Regions from separate parts of the Homo sapiens genome. Here all the other regions are linked to region 4. Evidence: promoter capture Hi-C in 16 types of primary human blood cells and fetal thymus (Javierre and others, 2016). All regions are on one chromosome and are shown on one strand. The core of a region is centred on a gene start or on the middle of the fragment in contact, and the rest is flanking DNA. Distances in the headings are between cores, read along the strand shown. Region 1 has its middle 120 kb from the start of FAM170A. Region 2 overlaps HSD17B4 (hydroxysteroid 17-beta dehydrogenase 4). Region 3 has its middle 84 kb from the start of FAM170A. Region 4 holds the start of DTWD2 (DTW motif tRNA-uridine aminocarboxypropyltransferase 2). Region 5 overlaps HSD17B4 (hydroxysteroid 17-beta dehydrogenase 4).

Evidence for each region. The method cuts DNA at HindIII sites, captures the fragments that hold promoters and counts their contacts. A CHiCAGO score of 5 or more calls a contact.
Region 1: a fragment that was not itself captured here is called in contact with the fragment with the promoter of DTWD2 in region 4 in 2 of 17 cell types (total CD8 T cells and naive CD8 T cells); the score reaches 6.6 in total CD8 T cells.
Region 2: a fragment that was not itself captured here is called in contact with the fragment with the promoter of DTWD2 in region 4 in 5 of 17 cell types (naive B cells, total CD8 T cells, non-activated CD4 T cells and 2 more); the score reaches 8.6 in naive B cells.
Region 3: a contact is called between a fragment that was not itself captured here and the fragment with the promoter of DTWD2 in region 4, in 3 of 17 cell types (erythroblasts, total B cells and activated CD4 T cells). The highest score is 6.1, in erythroblasts.
Region 5: a fragment that was not itself captured here is called in contact with the fragment with the promoter of DTWD2 in region 4 in 7 of 17 cell types (non-activated CD4 T cells, total CD4 T cells, activated CD4 T cells and 4 more); the score reaches 10.4 in non-activated CD4 T cells.

What each region holds. Positions count from the first base shown.
Region 1 is chr5:119,746,189-119,751,183 of GRCh38, reverse strand. No RefSeq gene overlaps it. Among named protein-coding and RNA genes, the nearest start is that of FAM170A, 120 kb to the right of the region's middle. The HindIII fragment of the contact is 2,309 bases long and covers 985-3,293 here.
Region 2 is chr5:119,520,902-119,526,153 of GRCh38, reverse strand. HSD17B4 (hydroxysteroid 17-beta dehydrogenase 4) reads right to left here. Exons shown (of 24, transcript NM_000414.4): 18 at 869-938; 19 at 131-237. Among named protein-coding and RNA genes, the nearest start is that of HSD17B4, 71 kb to the right of the region's middle. The HindIII fragment of the contact is 1,033 bases long and covers 1,338-2,370 here.
Region 3 is chr5:119,543,271-119,548,114 of GRCh38, reverse strand. It overlaps the pseudogene RPL21P58. Among named protein-coding and RNA genes, the nearest start is that of FAM170A, 84 kb to the left of the region's middle. The HindIII fragment of the contact is 511 bases long and covers 2,690-3,200 here.
Region 4 is chr5:118,986,821-118,992,024 of GRCh38, reverse strand. DTWD2 (DTW motif tRNA-uridine aminocarboxypropyltransferase 2) reads left to right here and starts at 3,478. Exons shown (of 6, transcript NM_173666.4): 1 at 3,478-3,731. The coding sequence starts at 3,514. RefSeq lists a silencer at 3,565-3,894. The HindIII fragment of the contact is 4,492 bases long and covers 2,637-5,204 here.
Region 5 is chr5:119,502,571-119,506,571 of GRCh38, reverse strand. All of the region lies in intron 14 of HSD17B4 (hydroxysteroid 17-beta dehydrogenase 4), which reads right to left. Among named protein-coding and RNA genes, the nearest start is that of HSD17B4, 52 kb to the right of the region's middle. The HindIII fragment of the contact is 4,906 bases long and covers 1-4,001 here.

The DNA.
Region 1 (4,995 bases), core at 890-3,389, 760 kb before region 4:
TCAGCCTAGAAAATCCAGCTAGTCCTGTCTCTCAGGCGCAGGCAATACAAAGTCCCTGAAGGGTGAATGAGTATGCTTGGTGTGCGAAGAATAGCAAGGAGGCCAGTGTGACAGTGAAGTGGAGTGGAGTAAAGTGGAGTGGATATGGGAGAGAGTAAAAGATAAAGGCAGAGAGGTAATGAGAGCGGAAGAGGAAATCCCCCTCTTTTTCTTGTTCCTTTCTTTGATTTTATTCTGGTTCCCTAGCACTACCACTCTTAGGGTGGTTATACTACCCCCTTAATTCCACAAACAAATTTACTTTACACAGCCACCGTTTATATCATTGTGCCATTTATGCATAGAAGTTGTTTGGTGTGTTGGATTACTCTGTCTGATAACTGACTTGTCCTGCCAGGTTGGTAGCCCTAAGCTAGTGGATTTTCTTCCAAGAATATGAAAGCAAAATATGCTTCGGTATAATATTGTGTAAAAAATTAATTGTATTTTCTAATATATCAGAGAGACACCAGCTGCTATTAAATAAAACTTCCTGAATTATCACTGTGCTGGCATTTTTTTGTCTGTTTTTTAGAAAAAAGTCTACTTTTTTAAGATTTTTACAAGTCTGCTTTCTACAATGTCTTTTAAATTAAACATACTGTTACATCTTATGATCATTTAAATTCATAATTTTGCTCATCAATCCTAGATATATTGAATTCAGGTTGATAATTTAAGAAATAGTGAACATATTAAAGATCCCCTTTTATTCTGTAACTTTGCTCCTTAAATATTTGGCACAGTGGTACTTTACTTTGGTTTTGCTATTCAGAGGACAGTCTTGATATATGAACATGAAATTTTAGGAAATGTCATGAATAAATGTAATCTAATTCCATTCAAACCACATTTATTGAGTACCTACTATCTTCCATGATTGGTTCTAATATTTCTCAATACAGCAAAGACCAAAACTGCAAATGGTGCTGTCATGATGAAGCTTTTCATTCTATTACGGTTGTCACAATAAAATGAGGAAATGGACATCAAGTAATAATAAATATTTTGAAGGAAAAAGAATAGAGTAAGGGGAATTCATGAGGTTGAATAAAATACTCTTTATATATGGAGGGAAGAAAATTCCTCTTTATTAGAAAGATATTTAAGCTGAGATATAAAAGAAGGAAGAAAGCAAATCAAGCAGTATGAGGGGTAGTGAGGAAGTTCTAGACAGTGGGGACAGGCAACACAAAGGCCCTGAGGGTGAATGAGTATGCTTAGTGTGCAAAGAATAGCAAGAAGGCCAGTTTGAGAGTGAAGTGGAGTGGAGTGAAGCGGAGTGCATATGGGAGAGAGTAAGAGATAAGGGCAGAGAGATAATGAGAGTGGAAGAGGAATGGGGAATAGATCATGTTAGGCATCACAGGACAAAATAACAGTTGTAGATATATGAAGCCATCAGAAGATTTTGAAAAAGAAAACTGTCATCTGCCTCCCATTTTAAAATGCTATATGGAAAATTAGTTTTAAAGACCGAGTTAGAGAAAAGAGATACATTAAGATACTGTTGCACTTCTAGGCAAAAGATGAGGATACCTTGGACCAGCATAGTAGTGGTAGAAGTAGTGAAAAATAATTTGACTTGAGAGAGACTTTGCAGGGAGAATTCTTTAAAACATTGTAGATGGATTATTGCATGTGAAGAATGAGAGAAAAAGAGGTGCAAGGATGACTCCAAAACTTTTGCCTGATCAACTGGAAAAAAATGGAATTTCAGGTACTAAGAAAGAAAATAGAGAAACAAGTATAGAGAAATAATTAAGAATTTGGCTTTGAATAAAATTTGGGATTCCCAGTAGTCATTCACAAGGGGATAGATGTTGAATAGGAAGTTGGCTGTGCAAGTCCAGCACTTGGTATGGGATTTGGACTAAAAATTAGCAATATCAGTATATAGATAATATTTGGTTTGGTTGGAGGAAACAACTCCAGCAGTGACAATTATGAAGAAGAGAGAGGACTAAGGACTGCAGGACTGCATTGAAAACCCTTATTTTTCCATACTCAGAAAGCTGGCAAAAGGTGAGAAGGAAACCCCCAATTTTTATATAATTCAGTATACTTCTTAACGTTAGAGAGCTCTTTTATAGCTATATACAATTGGTAGTTATAATAAGTCCTCTCACTTTCAGAAGAACCAGTACTAATAGAGCTGACACCTAATTTATTTGCTTGCTAAGCATCAGCTGCTAATCCCAGCTGATCTGAATCTGAATGAAATTAGTTTGAGGCAGAGTTGGACTTCACTAAAGGACATTGTGCCTTTGAATGATGTTTTTTAAGATAGACCAAAGGCTCCGCCCAGACACCTGGTGTTTCAGAAATTGATAGGGCTGCTCTACAGAGTAGTTTGATTCCAATGTAAGTTCCTCAAGAAAGCCACAAGCCTGGGATTTCATTATTTAGCCTACCAAGCATCCACTTTTGAAATCAGGACAAATCATTTATTCATTAGTATCCCATTGTAGCAGCCAAGACAGTCCCAATGATCCTAAACTCTTGGCATTAAGACTTTCGTAGTCCCCTCTCACATTGAATAGGGCTGACCGATATAACAAATAAGATATTGTGGAAATATTGGCATATAACTTAAGAGGCTACATCATGAAAGACATCAGAGCATCTACATTGCTCTCTTGAATTACTCAGGGGAAGCCAGCTGCCATGTTTCAAGAACCATCAAGCAGCCCTAGAGAGAGACAAAAACCACTTAGCAAGAAGCTGATGCTTCCTTCTTACAGTCAGTGAGAAACTAACTAAGATTGCCTATCAATAGCCATGTGAGTGAGCTATCTTGGAAGCAAATCCCCAGCCCCATTCAAGCCTTAAGATGACTGCAGCCTTGGCCAACACCTTATCAATACCTTGACTGTTGCTGGGCGCAGTAGTTCATGCCTGTAATCCCAGCACTTTGGGAGGCCCAGTCGGGCAGACCATGAGGATCCGTGTTAGCCAGGATCAAGACCATCCTGGCTAACACGGTGAAACCCCGTCTCTACTAAAAATACAAAAAAATTAGCTGGGCGTGGTGGTGGGCGCCTGTAGTCCCAGCTACTCGGGAGGCTGAGGCAGGAGAATGGCGTGAACCTGGGAGGCAGAGCTTGCAGTGAGCTGAGATCGCGCCACTGCACTCCAGCCTGGGCGACAGAGGGAGACTCCGTCCCATAAAAAAAAGAAAAAAAAAATACCTTGACTGTAACCGCAAGAAACACCCTTAGCCATAACCACCCACTAAGAACACCTGCTAAGCTTCTCCCAGATTTCTGATCCATGGAATCATAAAGGCCTGTTGTTGTTCTAAGTTTACTTGGGAAGCTTTGAAAATATTCATGCTTGGTTTCTATCCCCAGAGATTCTGACTTAATTGGCCTGGGATACGGGCTGGACAACAGGATTGAGTCTATCATCAAAGTTATGGTGTTCAAATAATATGTCACTCAATTTCAGATGAGATATGGAGCCAACCTGACCTACTAGACATTTACTTCTTTCCAAAAGTGAGAGGCAGGGCAAGTATTATATGGGTCATGGTGTTCTAGATGTGGACTCTGCAAAAAGGGTCAACAATGGTGGTACATTTCCCATCATTTGCTGCTAATTCTATTAAAGCACTTTAAAATGGAGACCAAGCCTAAAGAATCCCTGAACAGACAAAGCCAGTTAGGCCCTCATAAGGAACCTTAACCTTGCTTGCTTTGCAAACGTAAGTGAAACTTAACTTGAACTATTTCTTGTAAATGCCTAAGTTAAAGAAAAACAGAATTTAAGCTCGACAAGTCAGAAGCAACCAACAAACATATACTTATGTAACTAGGCATTTTCCAATGGGATACACCAAATAAGGCAACTGTATGACTGCAACCAATCAAATATTTTCTTTGTATTACTTTTGAGTTTGTCCTATAAATGCCTCCCACTTGTATTCTCTCTGTGGATCTCCTGAACCACTTCTGGTTTGAAACTGCTACTCTTGATTCATGAATCACTGTTTGCTCAAATAAACTCTTTAAAATTTTACTGTGCCTCCCTTTACTTTTTAACAATCCATGCAGGGCAAATAAACGTATGGCAGGAGGTACAGAGGAAAATCCAGGTAGATGTGGGCTGTTTTCCACCTGTTCTCAGCTTACATACCACCTAACGTATGCTGCCATATCCCTTCCATTTCATGAGGGATGACCTTAACTATTTCCTTCCTTTCACTCTGACTTCTACTGTATTTAATCCTCCTTGCATTCCCACATGCATACACACTACACACTTACCTGTCAGGATACTTTCAGCAGCAAGTAAAGAAAACCCAACTCAAGCAGCTTAAAAATAAAGAAAGTGTATTCTCTCATATAACACAAAGCTTAGAGGTAATTGAGTGGTTTATTGGCATAATGCACTCAGGATCATTCCATCTCTGCTATACTCAGGTGTTGTCTAAAGCTTCAGACTAATTTATTGAATGGACATGGACAACTGCCTCAGCTTCAGACATGAAGACTGAAAGAACAGAACAGAGAAATTCTCTTCCAATGTATCCCCTCTTATCAGGAAAGGAAAAAAAAGTTTTACACATGCACACACGCACACACACACACAGAAAGCCTCGCCACACATCTCATTGGTGGAAAAAACTAAGTTACATGCTCATTCCAACCATCAACAGGAAAAAGAATAGGAAAACATAATTGCTAAAGCTATGCAGCACTTAGTCCCAGTGAGCTAAAGATAGGATCACACACACACTTCATATTATCAACGTCTGCTGAAATACTTTAAATTGCGTATAACAGATACATATCAGTTAGCTGTTCCCACAGTAATGCTGCAAAACATAGACATGAAATCTCAGTAGCATAAAACAAAGTCATGTATGTCTCAGGAATCTACAGGTTAGCATGAGAGGTTTGGTTCTGCTAAACTCAACTGAACTCACACATCATTGATTCTTTTGACAGCCAA
Region 2 (5,252 bases), core at 605-3,104, 540 kb before region 4:
CAATGAAATAATAAAAATGTACATTGCTGTAGTACAATATCTATTTTCAATTAAATCACTAAAACCCCTTTTCTTCTCTAAAGATAGAAAAAGGAAGTAATATTCAAATTACGTAGTAATACACATTTACCTTAATTGCCTTGAATCTTGACACATCATTATCTGCAAACTGCTGTAACACACGCCTGGCAGAAAATCCAAATGTACATAATCCATGTAATATGGGCTTGTCAAAACCTAGGAAAAGAGAGAACACTGAGTTAGATACAGGTACCTTTAAAGTTTAAAAATCAAGTGTAGTTAATTCAGGACTTTAAAAATGTCCTTAGACTGCATTAGCAGGAATTATACCATCTATTTTAAGAAACACAGTAGATATTTTTTAAAGAGTATTTCCTGGGAGGAAATTATGAAATAAAGAAAGAAAGAAAAAAAAAAAACAAAACAGGAAAAGAATGTGAGAGATCTGGAAACACAATTGTTTTGTTTAGTTTTGGTTGTAACCATGAAATCATCCAGGGTACTCTCAACATCCACACAGGTACATGATCCTTCCCTAACCTTTCAGTTCCTTGCTCTCTCTCCAATGACCTTGTCCTTTGTGATAACTCACACACCCACCCTCGTGGTCCTATCCTAGACCTCGCACTAGCGGGAACTTCCCTCCACCATAATCTGAATTTCAAGTGCACTATTTTCTGAACACATTTCCTACCTTTCCATATCCTTTGCATAAATGTAATAAATAAAATAACATTTTTTTAAATGCTACTCAAACTACCAGTCATAAGTAGTAGTGTCTTTACATTATTTAATTAAATATCGAATAGCTAATATTTTTCATTGATACATATTAAAGACAACTCACCTGCTAGACTAGCAAAGTTAGGATCAATGTGTAAGGGATTCCAGTCTCCACTGAGGCGGTACAAAGCAGCCTGTGGAGAAAGCATAAACATAACTAGAACTCAGTGTTTTGTTAGAATACATTAAATGAAAAATAGGAAACATGGCTGGTTATTGGTATAAGCATTGTATCATAATGTACCTGAGGCTCTGATTTTAAAAATAATTATTTTTAACAATAAAGATTACCTATAATGAAATGTTTTTTTAACACTTGCCACTAAAATCAGTGGGAGGGAAAAAAATGTAGAAAGGGAAGCCAAGAATTATATTTAGGTAAAACACTGTTACTACTACCTAAGGAGAAATTCACAAAAAGAAGTCAGTCAATCTACTCCCATTTATACACAGATAAGGTAAATGTTTATAGTCTGCTCTAAGCAAGCAAAATTTATGCCAACTTTCTTACTGGGGTGTTTTAAATTGAAGCTTCTAAGACAATATCGGACATAGAAACATCAAAGACTTCTCACTAACTTTCATTCTGCTGGTACACTAAATCCTGAACATTAGCTCACCCTGCAAGAAAACTGACTGAACTGATAGCTTGCTATTATGATAAAAGTTCTGCTGAGTCCAGATTTCCACATCACTAGTTTACTTAGATAAAGTAGGATTAGCAGCGTGGCCTGGATAACAATAGGGAAAAAGTCACCATACTTTCTGGCGTTTAAATGGTACATTCTTCCAAGTTAGAAAGCACTTACCAGCACTGAAAGGAAGAAATTCACCAAACAGCTAATAGTAAGTGTATTTAATGTATCTGTAAACTTGACCGACCCTTTTAGGTCAGCCTCAAGACTTCTTCCCTTTCTCATTAATTGCTGTGCTGTTTTCCAAAGACTACTGAAATGCTGTGTAAAGACTAGCCATATCTTTTTAAAATTACTGATCTTTTATTACTTTTAAACTACTGATTATTTTTAACAAGTTTTATTTATAGAAAATATTCTATAATTCATAAGAAAGCATCATTCTTTTTAATATGCTTTGTATAATTCCAATAAGCTCTTTTCCTTCCCCATGACTCCATATAATGGTTCTATAGATTATTTACTTTCCCAATGACTCAATATTCTTTCCTTTACATGTCTTCTTAATATAATGAAATCAAATAAACAATTATTGAATACTGGTGACTTGCAAGGTCCCATATGAGATGCTAAGAGAAGTAAATGATAATTTTTTAAAAGCACTTTATATAATAAAATGTTAGCAAATATATATCATGATGTATACAAATGAAAGAAAAACACATTTCAGGGCCTGAAATTGTGACAGGAAATTATCAAACACATGCTAGATCATGGGATTTGGTACTAGTCAGATCTAGATTCAAAGCCAGCTCTACCATTAATGGGCAAGTTTCTTCACCATTCGAAGCCTCAATTGCTCATTTAGAAACATTTAGAGGCTAACAGAACTTACTCTCACAGAGTAGTTGGAAAAAGGTGGGATAAAGCTTACAAGGTATTATCTTTGATAAATAATACCTCAATAAATGTTAGTTATTTTTTAAAGATTATAGCAACAATACAAACAACCAAGTTTCTAAGATTAGTACTAGTATTCTTATCCCACATATATCATTCCTATAAATGAATACAGTGTTCTGAAGAAATCGTATTAATATGAAATATCTCACATTATTTCAATGATAGCATTGCTTTCTATAGATAACAGAGTTAAACGAAGACAAAAAAGGTTCATTATGAGAAATGACAAAAGCCAACTGACTAGATGTTTGACCCATTCAATCATAACACAAAATAAGCATTGTTCAATTAATAATGACCACTGCCAAAGCTTATCTTCTACGTATTTTGAAGAAATGGCATATTTCAGAAGGAAAGCTAAAAGTTTCTTGTTTCGTTTCATTTCTGCCTGGAAATAAGTCATTATAAATAACAACCACCAAAAAAATAAGAAAAAGAAAAATAGCTATATATTATTTTGCATATTAAAAGTAGGTGGGAGGATAATCTGCATACAGGTAAACTATTCCTTAATTTGATTTTTTAAAATTGTACCATTAAGTTAAACTAAATGCTAAATAAATAGGCTCAGGAAACTAGTGCTTTTTAAGTCCTCATATCCTCGAAAAAAAAAATACAAATAATGAGAACAAATAAAACTACACAAATCTCAAGCCTACAGTGTAACTAGAAGACAGAGAACACTGCAGAGTTCAAATTCCAGTAAGTCTCAAAATAAACACCACTTTTCTATCAGTGCTAACTTTTGAGCACCCTCTGAAAGCTACTGCAGAGTGGCAGGGCTTGGGGGGTGCAAAAGCAGTGCATGGAAGAGGGAAAAGGAAAATCACTCCCAGATAAATCCATCTTAAGGGCAAAAATACTGAAATGAATCCTGGAAGATTACAGCACTGACTACAATGAAAATAATTAATAGTACACTAGTCTTCCAGTGGCAATTCCAGAAAGGTATCACTTTCGGGGAGAACAGAATAAAACAAAGATATCACCTTTGGAGACTGGATGAAGAAAAAAAGAAGCAAGAGAGGAAATTAATGATCCTGAAAGATAATTTATTTTATTTTTAAAAATAAAACACCTCCCCACAGTGCCCCTTCTTTAAAGCCACCCACTAAAGAAATTGCATGTTGCTACACAGAGAGAAAGGGCAATTTTGAACTAAGAATCTTGGAAACCACCCCAAACCACAAAACGCACAGAGGTAAATATTCTTCATCTGTACAACACTAACATAAAACTAAAATTGCAATTCCTCAGGGATCTAGAACTAGCAATACCATTTGACCCAGCCATCCCATTACTGGGTATATACCCAAAGGATTATAATCATGCTGCTATAAAGACACATGCACACGTATGTTTATTGCAGCACTACTCACAATAGCAAAGACTTGGAACCAACCCAAATGTCCAACAATGATAGACTGGATTAAAAAAATGTAGCACATATACACCATGAAATACTATGCAGTCATAAAAAAGGATGAGTTCATGTCTTTTGTAGGGACATGGATGAAGCTGGAAACCATCATTCTCAGAAAACTATTGCAAGGACAAAAAACCAAACACCACATGTTCTCACTCATACGTGGGAATTGAATAATGAGAACACTTGGACACAGGAAGGGGAACATCACACACCGGGGCCTGTTGTGGGGTGGGGGAGGAGGGAGGGATATCATTAGGAGATATACCTAACGTAAATGACGAGTTAACGGGTGCAGCACACCAACATGGCACATGTATACGTATGTAACAAACCTGCACATTGTGCACATGTACCCTAGAACTTAAAGTATAATAAAAATACATATATATTTAAAAAAAAAAAACCAAAACTGAAAATGCAAAACAAAACCTTTTAGTAAATAAAATCCACCCCCCCTCCAAATAAACAAACTGCCAAACAGAAGAAAACTGTAACAAAACACTCAAGCATTTGGGGATGTAAAACAAACACTCTGAATCCAAAATCCAAAAACTAAGAAAATAAATGGATGACATACATGAAGAAATAAATAAGTAATGATTAAATTCAAGAAAGAAATGGAAAGAAAAAATCAAAATCATATAAGAAATGAAGACTAAATTATAAGGTACCCAAAGGAGAACACATTCAAATAAAAATTAAATAAGGGGATGGCAGAAAGGGCAGAAATGAACCATGAGAATGAAAATGAGATCAAGAAGCAACTAAAAAAGAACAGAAGAAAAGTAGTTGAAAGACATGAAAAGATTCAACATACATATAAATGGATACCCAAAGAAAGAAAAGCAAAACAGTGAAAGAGAACTAATATTTAAAATTTTAATACTATAAAACTAAAAGACATGAATATACATATTAAAAAGGCCCACCAGGTATATAAGGAAGACTGACCTGCAACATGCAAGACTGAGACATATCCCAGCAAAACCATTAGACTTTAAAAACGAAAATAATCTTGAGGGCCTCAGGGTAAAGATCAAGTAACTTACAGGGGAAGATAATTAGATTGGCATCAGACTTTTCAAAGGCAACATACAAAGTAAGACAACAATGATGCACCATTTTTAAGAAATAAGATTTTATATCCAACAATGCTGTCCCTTCAAGTATCTAGGGTAAATAGTTTTAAAGATATAGAAACCAAGGCAACACTATACACAGGAGCCGTTCTTGGGAAACCTTCCACAGAAGGAGCTTCATCCAACTAAGAGCTGACTAAGAAGCTTTGGCAAAAGGGTTGACATATTCAACTGCAAATCTAAAACTAAAAGATACAGAAAAGTGGAAATAATACATAAATGTTAAATGCTCTAAACAGTAAAAATAATGCATCCCCCAAAATGGGAACAATAAGAGGGGAA
Region 3 (4,844 bases), core at 1,696-4,195, 560 kb before region 4:
TCATTTGCCCATTTTTAAAAATTGGGTTATTAATGAGCCTTACTATTTTTAATATTTAAAAAACAGTGGGAAGAATGGGATAAATTGTATGCATGGTAGTTCCAACATCTCAACAAGAATCGCAAGTTGTATGCCAATCATTTTGTTTCATTAATATACTTTATTTGGTTTAAAGATTATGAGATAGAAAGAGCCTTAAAGGAACAGGAAGCATATGAAAAGACAAGTTAAATGATGAGCAAAGTGACTTAAAATAGCTATTCTCTAATGGTGAAAATTTTACGTGAACATATTTAAATAAGAATGGCAAAAACAAAGCTCCATTAGTAAGCAAAATATAAATAAGCAACTTTTTTAAGTATTTGTTTCTTGACCCTAGTTCTGTCCCTTGACATTCATAATTGAAAAAATTTTCCTGAAAGGCATTCATACTTTCATAAATTGTTTAAGGCAAATAAATATGACAGTTCTTTCGGCTGGAACCACCATCTTCCAGTAATTCACCAAAATGATGAAGACAAAGGCAAAGAGGAGAGGCACCCGATATATGGTCTCTAAGCGTTTTAGAAAACAAGAGTTTTTCCTTTGGCCATGTATATGCAAATCTATAAGAAAGGTGATATTGTAGACATCAAGGGAATGGGTACTGCTCAAAAAGGAATGCCCCACAAGTGTTATCATGGCAAAACTGGAAGAGTCTACAATGTTACCTGGCATGCTGTTGGCCTTATTGTAAACAAACAAGTTAAAGGCAAGATTCTTGCCAAGAGAATTAATGCGCTTATTGAACACATTAAGCACTCTAAGAGCCAAGATAGTTTCCTGAAACGCGTGAAGGAAAATAATCAGAAAAAGAAGCCAAAGACAAAGGTACCTGGATTCAACTGAAGCGCCAGTCTGCTCCACTCAGCGAAGTACACTGTGAGAACCGATGGGAAGGAGCCTGAGCTGCTGGAACTTATTCCCTATGAATTCATGGCATAGTAGGTGTTAAAAAAATAAAAGACCTCTGGACTGTAAAAATGTTTCTACTCATTGAGTAGAAGTGTGGTGTCCTCTTCCCGAAAGAAATATTTAAAGTAAATTTTAATTGTCTTTATCCATTGAGTAATGTCTTTACTATTCCAATTTAATGTATTTCTTGCTCAAAGAGGTGAGGTGGCTTACTGTGGAACATATTACTCAATTGGTTAGAAAACAGCCAGATATTATTTATGAAATATTTGTACTGGTTTGAAGATAGTCCCACTAAATCATCATGGAAGAAATAAAATAATTTACAAAAATTTTTTAAAAATTAAATTTTTAAAAAAAATAAAGCTGACAGTTGAAAATTTTGTTTTCTAAACCAGTGGCTCTCAGCACCTATATCCAGTTTCCACCCTGCAAGCTAAATCCAGTTCCTAGCCTGTTTTTTGTCCAGCTAGCAAACTAAGAATGGCTTTTTCAATTTTAGGTTTTTCTTTTTGTTTTGTTTTTTTTTTAAGAAATACGGTACAGAGACCAAATGTGGCCCACAACGCCAAAAGTCTTTACTGTGTGGCCCTTTACGGAAAATGTATGCTGACCCCTGATTTAACCCATCATTGTTCTTTACTGACAGTCCTGTAACTTCAAGAGATTAAGGTGTATAGAGCTGTTCAACCTCACTTCAAATGACACTTCTTAGTCTGTTTTCTGGGTTAATTTTATGACTTCTTCCATGCTGCCTACAAAAACTACCCCCAGCCAGTGCTCCCTGCAACAACACATGGTTCTTTCTACTTGACTGTTTTTCCATTCTTGTGAGCTGTAGGCTTAAAAGTTATGTAACCAAGCTTCTTAAAAGATGGATTTTGAATGAAGCTACAAACAGATCTTACATGGTTAAATTTTGAATTTTAGTGCCTCAACACTCGGCAATCTCAGGTTATCTTTTTTTTTAAGCTACGTTAACCCTGATGTCTAGAAATCACTTAATTGGGCAACTTCAACCAACATACCATGTATACATGTAATATAAATCTAGACTCATTTTTAGCTAAGGCTTGCAATTTCTGTATTTTGCCTATTTATGCATTGTAAAATAGGTTATTTTCTATCCTCTCCCCTCATAAAAATAGCTTAGTCCACATTGACCTAAAATGTTCTTCTCTTCAGAAAATCACTTTCCATAACTGTCAGCTTTTGAAGTTTCTGAACTTCAGAATTTCTCAGTGGAACTGGATTATCTTTCAGTTTTTCTGCTTTATTTGTTGACCTAACAGGCAAAGTTAAAATGTTGGGGTAATACTATTCAAATCTATTTATTTCCAATGAAAAAAAAATCAGCTTTCTTATTGTTTGCTTTAAAATATATACAAAGTTCTGTGAGAAGTCAAGAGATTATTCTGTTAGGATCGATTGAGAACAGTCTCACACAGGTGACACTTGGAAGGCTTAGGGATATATAGTTTACCTGATGTTAAGGTAAAGAAGCAAATTAAGAGAGCTAAAGAACCTGTGGGGTGGATATTTGAGATATGGCTTTCCAGTCCTCCAAATTTCCTGATATCACACCTGATTTGCTCTTAGGCCATGTGGCTTGGTTGGGGCTGATCCTATCAGTGTAGAAAAAGAGCTAACAAAGCAGACCTTGAGCCTGCTGCCCTTAGAATGCTTCTGAGGTTGATGCCTGGCTGGTATCTGGGAACTTAAATTTTGGGAAGCTTCCCACCATTCCCTCACTGAGTGGCTCTCTGTGCCATGTTTGTACAAACAACGTGGTTTATGCTAAACACCTGCTTTCCTCCTGAGTCTGGAATTTGGGGATGTGTTCAGGTAGAGGAGCCCATGTGAATAAGACCCCAGTAAAAACCTAGGGAACTGACTCTCTAAATGAACTTCACTGGTAGTCAAAGGAAATCACAAAATAGACAAGTAGAAGTCAGATTAACAGGTTCATTAAGAAGTTAATATATTTCTCATTGAAAGGTAAGAAGAATTAAGGAAGATGGGGCATTTGATAATATTAAATATTACAGAAGGGTTAAGGAGCATGACTGATAAGTTGCCAAATTTGGATATGAGTAGTTCTCTGACCATAAATATTGACAGAGATGTGTAAGAAAATTAAAACATAACTTCCTTAAGTTTTAAGTATCTAGGGTATATAATCAACACTTTCATTAATATACAGTGGCATTTATTTTAATATGCTATTTCTATTGGACACGAAAGCTTTCCCAAGCTCAATATAAACAACTATTTAGTACAATAATAGACCAACATTAAAAATACTGCCATTGACTATTCACAATAGCAAAGACTTGGAACCAACCCAAATGTCCAACAATTAACTCAATTAATTCAATTGGTATAACAACAGATCACTCTGAAATAAATTTAAAAATACTATACAGTTCATGAGACAAAGGCATAATTGCCAAAAATATAATTTCTTCCTATGCCTTCTACTTATTCTGTTCACTCATTAAAATAAGTAACATATTGAGGTCTTCTACTGTTCCATCACTGTTCTAAGTATCACAGTTCCAAATTTCTGAAACCTTCTCCCCTGATCCCTGAATTTGCATTCTTGTTTCCTCAAATAAAGTGTGCTGAGTTCTACAAAGCCCCATCAGGATTGAAAGACATATTCCTCAGCATGATACTGGTACAAAACAGACATACTGAGCAACGTAACTAAACAGGGAACTCAGAAATAAGACTGCCCACCTACAGCCATCTGATCTTTATGAAACTTGACAAAAACAAGCAATGGAAAAAAGATTCTCTAATAGGTTTAATAAATGATGCTGTGAGTGCTGGTTAGCCACATGCAGAAAATTGAAACTGGACCCCTTTCTTACACCTTATACAAAAACCAACTCAAGATGGGTTACAGACTTAAATTTAAAAACCCAAAACTATAAACCCTAGAAAAAAATCTAGGCAATAACATTCAGGGCATAGGCATGGGCAAAGATTTCATGACAAAAACGCCAAAAGCAATTGCAATAAAAGCAAAAACTGGCTAATGAGATCTAATTAAACTAAAGAGCATCTGCACAGCAAAAGAAACTATCATCAGAGTGAACAGACAACCTACAGAATGGGAGAAAATTTTTGCAATCTATCCATCTGACAAAGGTCTAATACCCATAGTCTACAAGGAACCTAAACAAATGTACAGGAAAAAAACAACCCAACTAAAAAGTGGGCAAAGGACATGAACAGATACTTCTCAAAAGAAGACACACATGTGGCCAACAAACATGAAAAAAAGTTCAACATCACTGATCATTAGAGAAATCAAATCACAATGAGATACCATCTCATGCCAGTCAGAATGGCGATTACTAAAAAATCAAGAAACAATAGATGCTGGTGAGGCTGTGAATAAATAAGAACACTTTTACACTGCTGGGGGGAGTATAAATTAATTCAACCATAGTGGAAGACAGTGTGGCAATTCCTCAAAGACTTAGAGGCAGAAATACCATTTGACCTAGCAATCCCATTACTGGGTATTTACCCAGAGGAATATAAATTATTCTATTATAAAGGTACACGCATATAAATGTTCACTGCAGCACTATTCACAACAGCAAAGACATGGAATCAACCCAAATGCCCATCAATGATAGACTGGATAAAGAAAATGTGGTAGCTATATACAATGGAATACTCTGCAGCCATAAAAAGGAGTGAGATCATATCCTTTGCAGGGACATGGATGGAGCTGGAGGCCATTATCCTTAGCAAACTAACGCAGGAACAGAAAACCAAACACCGCATGTTTTCACTTATAAGAGGGAACTGAATGATGAAAACACATGGACACATGGTGGGGAACAACTCACACTGGGGCCTGTTGCAGGGGT
Region 4 (5,204 bases), core at 2,229-4,728:
TGCAGCACACCAACATGGCACATGTATACATATGTAACAAACCTGCATGTCGTGCACATGTACCCTAGAACTTAAAGTATAATAATAATTAAAAAAAAAAAAAGTATCCTTGATGAAGTAGCCTAAGCTGCTGCTCTGCCTGTGGAGTAGCCATTTGTTATTCTTTTGCTTGCCTAATAAACTTGGTTTTCACTTAAAAGAAAAATAAGTGGCCAGGCGCGGTGGCTCAGTCCTGTAATCCCAGCACTTTGGGAGGCCGAGGCGGGTGGATCACCTGAGGTCCGGAGTTCAAGACCAGCCTGATCAACACAGTAAAACCCTGTCTCTACTAAAAATACAGAACTGGGCCGGGCGCGGTGGCTCACGCCTGTAATCCCAGCACTTTGGGAGGCCGAGGCGGGTGGATCATGAGGTCAGGAGATCGAGACCATCCTGGCTAACAAGGTGAAACCCCGTCTCTACTAAAAATACAAAAAATTAGCCGGGCGCGGTGGCGGGCGCCTGTAGTCCCAGCTACTCGGGAGGCTGAGGCAGGAGAATGGCGTGAACCCGGGAAGCGGAGCTTGCAGTGAGCCGAGATTGCGCCACTGCAGTCCGCAGTCCGACCTGGGCAACAGAGCGAGACTCCGTCTCAAAAAAAAAAAAAAAAAAAAAAAAAAAAGAACTGGCCTGACATGGTGGCACGCAGCCTGTAGTCCCAGCTACTCGGGAGGCTGAGGCAGAATTGCTTGAACCCGGGAGGCGGAGGTCGCAGTGAGCCCAGATCACGCCACTACTCTCCAGCCTGGGCGGCAGAGCGAGACTCCATCTCAAAAAAAAAAAAAAAAACAAAGGAAAAAGCCACTAAATTTGTGGTTATTAGTTCCACAGTGATAGAAAATGAATATAGCAAAAAATACCATGTTTTTATTTCATTTAAATCAAATCTTATACAATGCTGAATCCTCATACTGCAGGCCTGGCAGGATATTCAATCCCTTACATTACTGAGGCCCTTTCCTCTACCAGTAACAGGATCTCCTTTTCCCACAACACCAGGCGTGGACCTAAGATTGTCCTCAGTCTTTACTACCCAAACTCCTCTGAGGCAAAGGAGCATAAAAGTCTGGTTTTCTACCTGAAGTTGGGAGATAAACAAAACATACATTAACACCTCAATACATTATCTTGACACTAGTAAGTTGTCTGTATCCCATAAAGGATATTTTACTTCCCTTTCTGGTGTCTTGGCACTTCCCAGAAGCTGAGTCACTGATGGTCTGATACCTGGGTCTGCCCCAAGGTGGTAACCTCACCTGCATGTTTCCTCAGGCGTCTGAAGGTCATTGTTCACAAACCTGGATATTGGGTGAATTTCTTGCTTCCTATAGAGGAAAATGGCTCTCCTTTCTCAACTCTGTGTCTTGCCTGGATGGAAGCTTTCTTTGATTTTGGTCAGCCTCTGAGACAATGGACTTGTAGGGGATTTTCTTCATAAGGAGCGGAGATGGAGCAGGAGACCACTTAGGTCTTTGGCAATATTCTATGCAAGAGATGACGGGGGCTTGAACCAGGGCAGAAGTAGTAGGTGAGATAAATGTTTGGATTTTGAATACTTTGAAGGGTAAAGCCAATAATCTGATATGGGGTGTTAAAAGGAAGCCCCAAGTAAGTAGGCTCACATCAACCTAAAAGGAAGGAGCAGAGGCAAAATTAATATAGAGAGTTTATTTGGGCCAACGTTGAGGACTGTAGCCTAGGTCGTACTTCCAGGTTGCTGTGGAGAGTGCTCTGGAGAACAAAATGGGCTGGAGTTTTTAAAGAAAAGAGAACGAATCAGCAGAGGGGGGCATTACAAAAGCTATGTCTCAGGAAGTGTCATTTATTTACAGAAATAACATTGGTTAGTGATTGGCTATACATATTGTTGAACTATAGGGTATACGGCGTTTTATGGCTACTCGGTGTCAGTCTAGGGCCTGCATAGCAAGTGCCTTCAAGAGGTAATTATTTAGCTCAAGGGAGAGTGAGACATGACTGCTCGCATTCCTTAGATAAAAAGTTTTTTTTTTTTTCCTTATCATCTGTCTTCTCACACCACACAATTGGGAGTCTCAAGGGACCTTAGAGGACTTGAGCACATTTCACCTCTTGAAATTAAAGATGAGCAGCTTCCTTTCGTTTAAAGATAAGTCACATGAGAATTTAATTTTGGCAGTTAAAGAATTGGTTCCCCAACCTAAATCTACAGACAAGATGAATTTTCTGATTCATCTCCTTTCCTACAGTTTCTGGATTTTGTTTATCCTCCGATTCCAAATGGCATAATTGCTAGTTCTTTCTCCCACTCTACGTCCATCACCAGGTGGGTGTTTCAGCCTTTTTCTATCCCTCACATAGGACGCTCCAAAGGAAAAGAGAGGTGCTGTTTCCGGGGGGAAAGAACGTAGGATAGTTGAAAACAGCACGGTATTTTATTCACAAACTTGATTTTAAGATGACTGAAAAATCTAATGTGAAATAAACATTTTAAGAAATACAGTATTTGCTCTATTACTGTGTTGTCTACTTTGCCTCACATTTAATCTATTACAACTATAGAGTTAAGACAACTGTGATTCCTAAGCTTAATTCACATGATTGATCAAAACCAAGCTTAATTCTGTTTTAATGTTGTGTATTGCTGGAAGTAACACAAAGCATTAATAAACAAAAGGAATTCGATACCCATTTTGGGTAAATAGTATTTCTGCCTTCATTCTAACATAGATTTCATTTTGGCTTTTAAAAAACAGCTGCTGTGCTATATACCGCCGTATCCAGTAGTTGTTAAATACCTGGGCAACGTTACCTTTCTAGGGCTTGTTTCCTCATACATAAAACCTATTGGTACCCCGGGCCAGCTCTCCTATTGCTTCCTGATCGGGGACGATCTAAAAATCTAATTTAACAAATATCTGGTGTCCAGTGTAAAATAGCATGCTTGATGTCTTATTAGCACAAGACATAGAAGAGCAGGAAATTCACATAAGGAAACGGACCAGCTGTGAGTAGTTCCCAGTGGATATAACCTCTCCTTTGTTGGCCTTTAAATAATAAGTGCATCAGCTGCCGCACCTGCGATGCATGCACGCGTGGAAATCCTGCAAATTCTTAAACTGCCATCCCAAGGCGGAAAATGCAGAATTCCATTTTATTTTAACTTTTAAAGGAGTTAAATTCGGGCTTGGTACTGGGGTCCTCTCGGGGAGGTTTCCCTTACCTCTCCCAATGACGCTACTTAACCTCACCAGCACTCCAACACTGCCCACACTTGCCTACCCAGTTCTAGGTGAACGGTCCCACTGGGCACGGACCAATGGGCTCGTTCCTTCCCAGCGGCAGGGTGGGACCTCCAGCCTGGGCTTCGGAGACCCGCCCCCCGTACGTGGCGTGCGGGCATTGCGCTACGCGGCGCGGGCCGGTTTCTACAGCGCGTGGCGCCCCCCGGCGGCAGCCGGGCTTCAATGCCACGGCCTGACCGGAGTGTCCGCCATGGAGTCGCAGAAAGAGGCACGAACACTCCAGGAGCCCGTTGCGCGGCCTTCTGGGGCCTCAAGCTCTCAGACGCCGAACGACAAGGAGCGGCGGGAGGGCGGCGCAGTGCCGGCGGCGGCTGCCCTGGGCGCAGAGGCGGACGACGACAGTGCGGACGGGCTGTGGGAGCTGCCGGTGGAGCCGGCCGAGCGGAGGCCTGAGTGCACCCGCTGCAGGTGACCGCGGGGCTGGGGGCGGGGACTGCAGCCGGCAGCGGCCTTCGGAGGAGGGTGCGGCGCCCCCTGCCGGGGAGTCGGCGGCTCGGGCAGCTCTGCGATTAGGGCGGCGGAGTTGGCGGGTGCACGTTGGAAATCTCGGAAATGCCAGGCACAGCTACCTAGTAAGAAGCCCTTTTTCCAGGTTCATGATTATCTAACCTTACTTCCTGCAATATGCTGAGCGTATCATGGGATGAGCAGACATCAGTTCTGTTTCCAAGAAACTTAAGCGTCCAATAGGGGAAGTAAGGGGTGATGACAGTAATACTTGTAAAATAGTTACACAGTCATATTTAAGTGGCATAGTTATATCACAGTTAAAAAGCATAAAGTGGATTGGAGGAGAGAGACAGTCTCCTTTACCTATCCTACCAGAACTCTAAATATAGGGCCTTTTCAGGTGTTCATTCTAGGTTCTCTTCAAACCCTACATACGTCCCACTGGTAATTTATAAAATCAGTTTTCATGGTAAATTATCATCTATATCCCAGTGTGTCTAGCTCAGACCTTTCTTCGGAACACCAGACCTGTGCATTAATTTATCAGGTGTTTATTGAGTGCTTTGGTAATCACTGACAATGCAGTGGAGTTCATGTTTTTGTAGAGTATTCTCTTACTGGATACGGATAATAAACCAGCAAACAAGCAATCAAATATGTAATTACAAACTGGGAAAAAAGCAGTGAAGGAAAGGAATGGGTTGCTACTGTAGAAAATAGCTCAATGGTGTCATGAACTATCTCTGAGATTTGAAAGATGAGAAGAATCCAGCCAGGGGAAAAGCATTCCAAGAAGGGGAACAGAAGGACTGAATATGGTTGAAGATCTTTACTGCTTGAATACTTGGAGTATCACACTTTGGACATTTTGACCTTTTCCTAGGGCTGGATTGTAAGACTTCAGAGGAAAGGATCTTGAATGTAGAATGTTTTTATATTTTCTAAATGTACTATGTATAGTTGACGCTCAGTAAACCTCTGAGGAGGATGGAAAATTTGTGATTAGAAGGGACTGTGAATTTGAACATAGGGGTTTGTGAATACAATTAATTTAAACAAGTCGTCTGAGGGGGTTGGGGAAGCATTTAAAAATGTTTGGAGGGGTCTCAATAGGATACTGGAGGAAAAGTGTTTCAAATATAAATCAAAGGCTAAATTACTGTGCTAGTTTTATTTAGTTTTTAGTCTGTTCAGAATTGTTAATTATAAATATATAGGTAAAAATCTGTTTAGCAGAGATTTATTTTATGATGCTTTTTTAAAAAAATGGCTTGCTGAATTTAATCTTTTTTTCAGTTACGTTTAGTTAATACCTTAGGATTACAATTTTCCCCAACATTTCTGCACTTTGCTTATTTCTGGTGAAATTTGCTACCTGTGAAAAGCTCTCCTCCCTCTTGCTATGCATTTTATTTGCTTTAATTAGGTAGA
Region 5 (4,001 bases), core at 597-3,096, 520 kb before region 4:
TAGAACTAGAAATACCATTTGACCCAGCAATCCCATTACTGGGTATGTACCCAAAGGATTATAAATCATTCTACTACAAAGACACATGCACACGTATATTTATTGTGGCACTATTCACAATAGCAAAGGCTTGGAACCAACCCAAATGTCCATCAATAATAGACTGGATAAAGAAAATGTGGCACATATACACCATGGAATACTATGCAGCCATAAAAAAGGATGAGTTCATGTCCTTTGCAGGGACATGGATGAAGCTGGAAACCATCATTCTCAGCAAACTATCACAAGATCAGAAAATCAAACAACGCACGTTCTCACTCATAAGTGGGAGTTGAACAACGAGAACACATGGACACAGGGAGGGGAACATCACACACCGGGGCCTGTCAAGGTGTGCAGGACAAGGGGAGGGATAACATTAGGAGAAATACCTAATATAGGTGACGGGTTGATGTGTGCAGCAAACCACCATGGCACGTGTATACCTATGTAACAAAACTGCACATTGTGCACATGTACCCCAGAACTTAAAGTATAATAAAAAATAATAATAATGTTCCTGAACTCACTAGAAAAAATAATTCAACAGTAAAAGCAGTCAGAATACCGGAATCGCTAAATTTCAAACATCAATATTTGATACATTAGATTTTTTTAAATAACCATTGGCAATGTCAAGGACTCCTCTTGGTGTCTTTTGACCCTGTTATTCAACAAACATTTGTTGAGCATACAACCAATACTGTTTACCCCATTCTTTCTTAAATTTCTACTCCTATTCAACACAATACTGCAACTCCTACCCAGAGCAATCTGGCAATAAAAAAAAAAAAATGTTAAGACATCCAAACAGGAAAAGAAGTCAAATTATCTCTCTTCACCAATGATATCATTCTATACCTAGAGAACACTAAAGACTCCATCTACCAAAAGGCTCCTAGAACTGATAATGAGTCAAGTAAAAGTTTCAGGATACAAAATCAATGAACAAAAAAGAGTAGCATTTCCATACACCAACAATATTCAAGCTGAGAGCCAAATTAAGAATGCAATCTCATTTACAATAGCACAAAAAAATAAAATATCTAGGAATACATCTAATCAAGGTGGTGTAAGGTCTCTACAAGGAGAACTATAAAACACTGCTGAAAGAAATCAGATAACACAAACAAATGGAAAAAACATTCCATACTCATGGGTTGGAAGAATCAATATTGTTAAAATGGTCGTACTACTCAAAGCAATCTGCAGATTCAATGCTGTTCCTATGAAACCACCAATGTCATTTTTTACAGAATTAGAAAAAACTATTCTAAAACTCATATGGTACCAGAAAGAGCCAGAATAGTCAAAGCAATCCCAAGTAAAAAAAAAAAACAAAGCTGGAAGTATCATATTAACTGACTTGAAACTATACTATAAAACTACAGTAACCAAAACAGCATGGCACTGGTACAAGAAAAGACCAATGGAAAAGAACAGAGAACCCAGAAGTAAACCCACACACCTACAACCATCTGATCTTTGACAAAGTTGACAAATATAGGGAATGGGGAAAGGACTCCCTATTCAATAAACGGTGCTGAGATAACTGGCTAGCCATATGCAGAAAAATGAAACTAGACTCCCACCTTTCATCATATACAAAAATTAACTCAAGATGGATTAAATATTTAGATGTAAGACCTCAAAGTATTAAAATTCTAGAATAAAACATAGGAAATACCATCCTGGACATCAGCCTTAGGAAATAATTTATGGCTAAGTCCTCAAAAGCAATTACGATCAAAACAAAGATTAACAAGTAGGACCTAATTAAACTATGAACAGAGTAAACAGACAACCTAAAGAATGGGAGAAAATATTCTCACACTATGTATCCAATAGAGGTCTAATGTCTAGAATCTATGAGGAACGTAGTTCAACAAGCAAAAAACAAATAATCCCATTAAGAAATGGGCAAAGGACATAACAGACACTTCTCAAAAGAAGACACACAAGTGGCCAACAAACATAAAAAAAATGCTTCATAACACTAATCATCAGAGAAATGCAAATCAAAACCACAATGAGATACCATGTCACATCAGTCAGAATGGCTATTACTAAAAAGTCAAAAAAATAACAGATGCTGGTGAGGCTGCAGATAAAACAGAACATTTATACACTGTTGGAGGGAATGTAAATTAGTACAGCTACCATGAAAAGCAGTCTGGAGATTTCTCAAAGAACTTAAAACAGAACTACCATTTGACCCAGCAATCTCATTACTGGATATATACCCAAAGGAAAAGAAATCATTCCACCAAAAAGACATATGCACTCATATGCTCACTGCAGCACTATTCACAATAGCAAAGACATGGAATCAATCTAGGTGCCCATCAATGGTGAAATGGATAAAGAAAATGTGGTACATATATACCATGGAATACTACGCAGCCATGAAAAAGAACAAAATCATGTGCTCCGCAGCAACATGGATACAGTTGGACGTCATTATCCTAAGTGAATTAATGCAGGAACAAAAAACCAAATACTGTGTGTTTTCACTTACAAGTGGGAGCTGAACTCTGGGTACACGTGGACATAAAGATGGGAACAACAGACAATGGGGACTACTAGAGTAGGGAGAGCAAGAACTGAAAAACTACCTATTGGGTACTATGCTCACTACCTGAGTGATGGGATCATTCATATCCCAAAGTTTAGCATCACACAATACACCCACGTAATAAATCTGCACAGGTACCTCCTGAATCTAAAATAAAAGTTAAAATTCTTTTTTAAAATAATAAAGTTTATATAAAACCAAAAAAAAAAAACAGACAGAAAAGAAAGTACTGCTGCGTTCCTTCACTCCTTCTAGTGGTTATTTTTAACATGATTAGGGTAAGTCAGCCTATGACACTACCACTATAGCCAACAAATGAGCCATTAAGAGATGTTGTTATCAGTCTCCTGATGCTTGACACTCTGTGTCTCATCAATTGGTGTGTTTTATAAACAGTAGTAGATTATAAACAGTAGTCGTGACCTTGGTTTTCTGCAGTTTAAAAGGTTCCAAACCACAAATATCTCATATTTTGAACATTCACATTTACTACACAGTAAATTTTAAAACTGCTTAAAGAAAATGCACAGGCTGAGAAAAAATAATTCATGAGAAATATAACTTGAGGCTAAGGAGGTAAAAAAAAATGAAAAAGTTATTCTCTACACCTTCCTATTCACATCACTGTTCAGTTATCATCACTCTGGAGTATACATCTAATCTCTCTTTTCGTATTTTAAAATCCCTAACGGCAGAAACCTATCTTGCACATTTCTACTTCCCTTATAACAATGGTTTCCAAGTGGACCCATAGGGCTGGGTACATATGAAACATGTAAGGAGCTTCCTAGCCACTGTCACCAACACCACCACCCCACCACATACATACATGCACACATACACACACACACACACACACACACACACACACACACACAATTTCCAAGGTTGGGATTGAGAATCTACATTTTACTTAAATTAACAGATAATATAATGTAATAACTCGGGTGATTTTGATATACAGACAGGTTAGAAAATTACCTACTACCTAATACTGTGCCTTGCAAATACTGGGTATCCAGCAGATATTTGATCAATGCACAATCACCACAAAGTGTACTGTTTCACATAAAAAGAGCTGTTTTGAAACCTTATGCTATAATACTTACACTGAAATAAAGCTATTCAGCTTCAAGCAATAAAAATCTCATACATTTTTTAGAAAAATAAAAAGGTTTAAGAAAAATATTCAAGTAGGATTCTAGCTACTTGCCGACCTCTACATTGTATAACATGAAATGACAAATATTAACAAAACATTCCTTTTTGTATTCTACCACCTTATATGACCAGTATATAATTAGACAACATTCAAACATCAAAGTAGAGAAATAAATATATCCAATTATAGTGAAAAAAATTAAAAGAGATTTACTAAACAAGT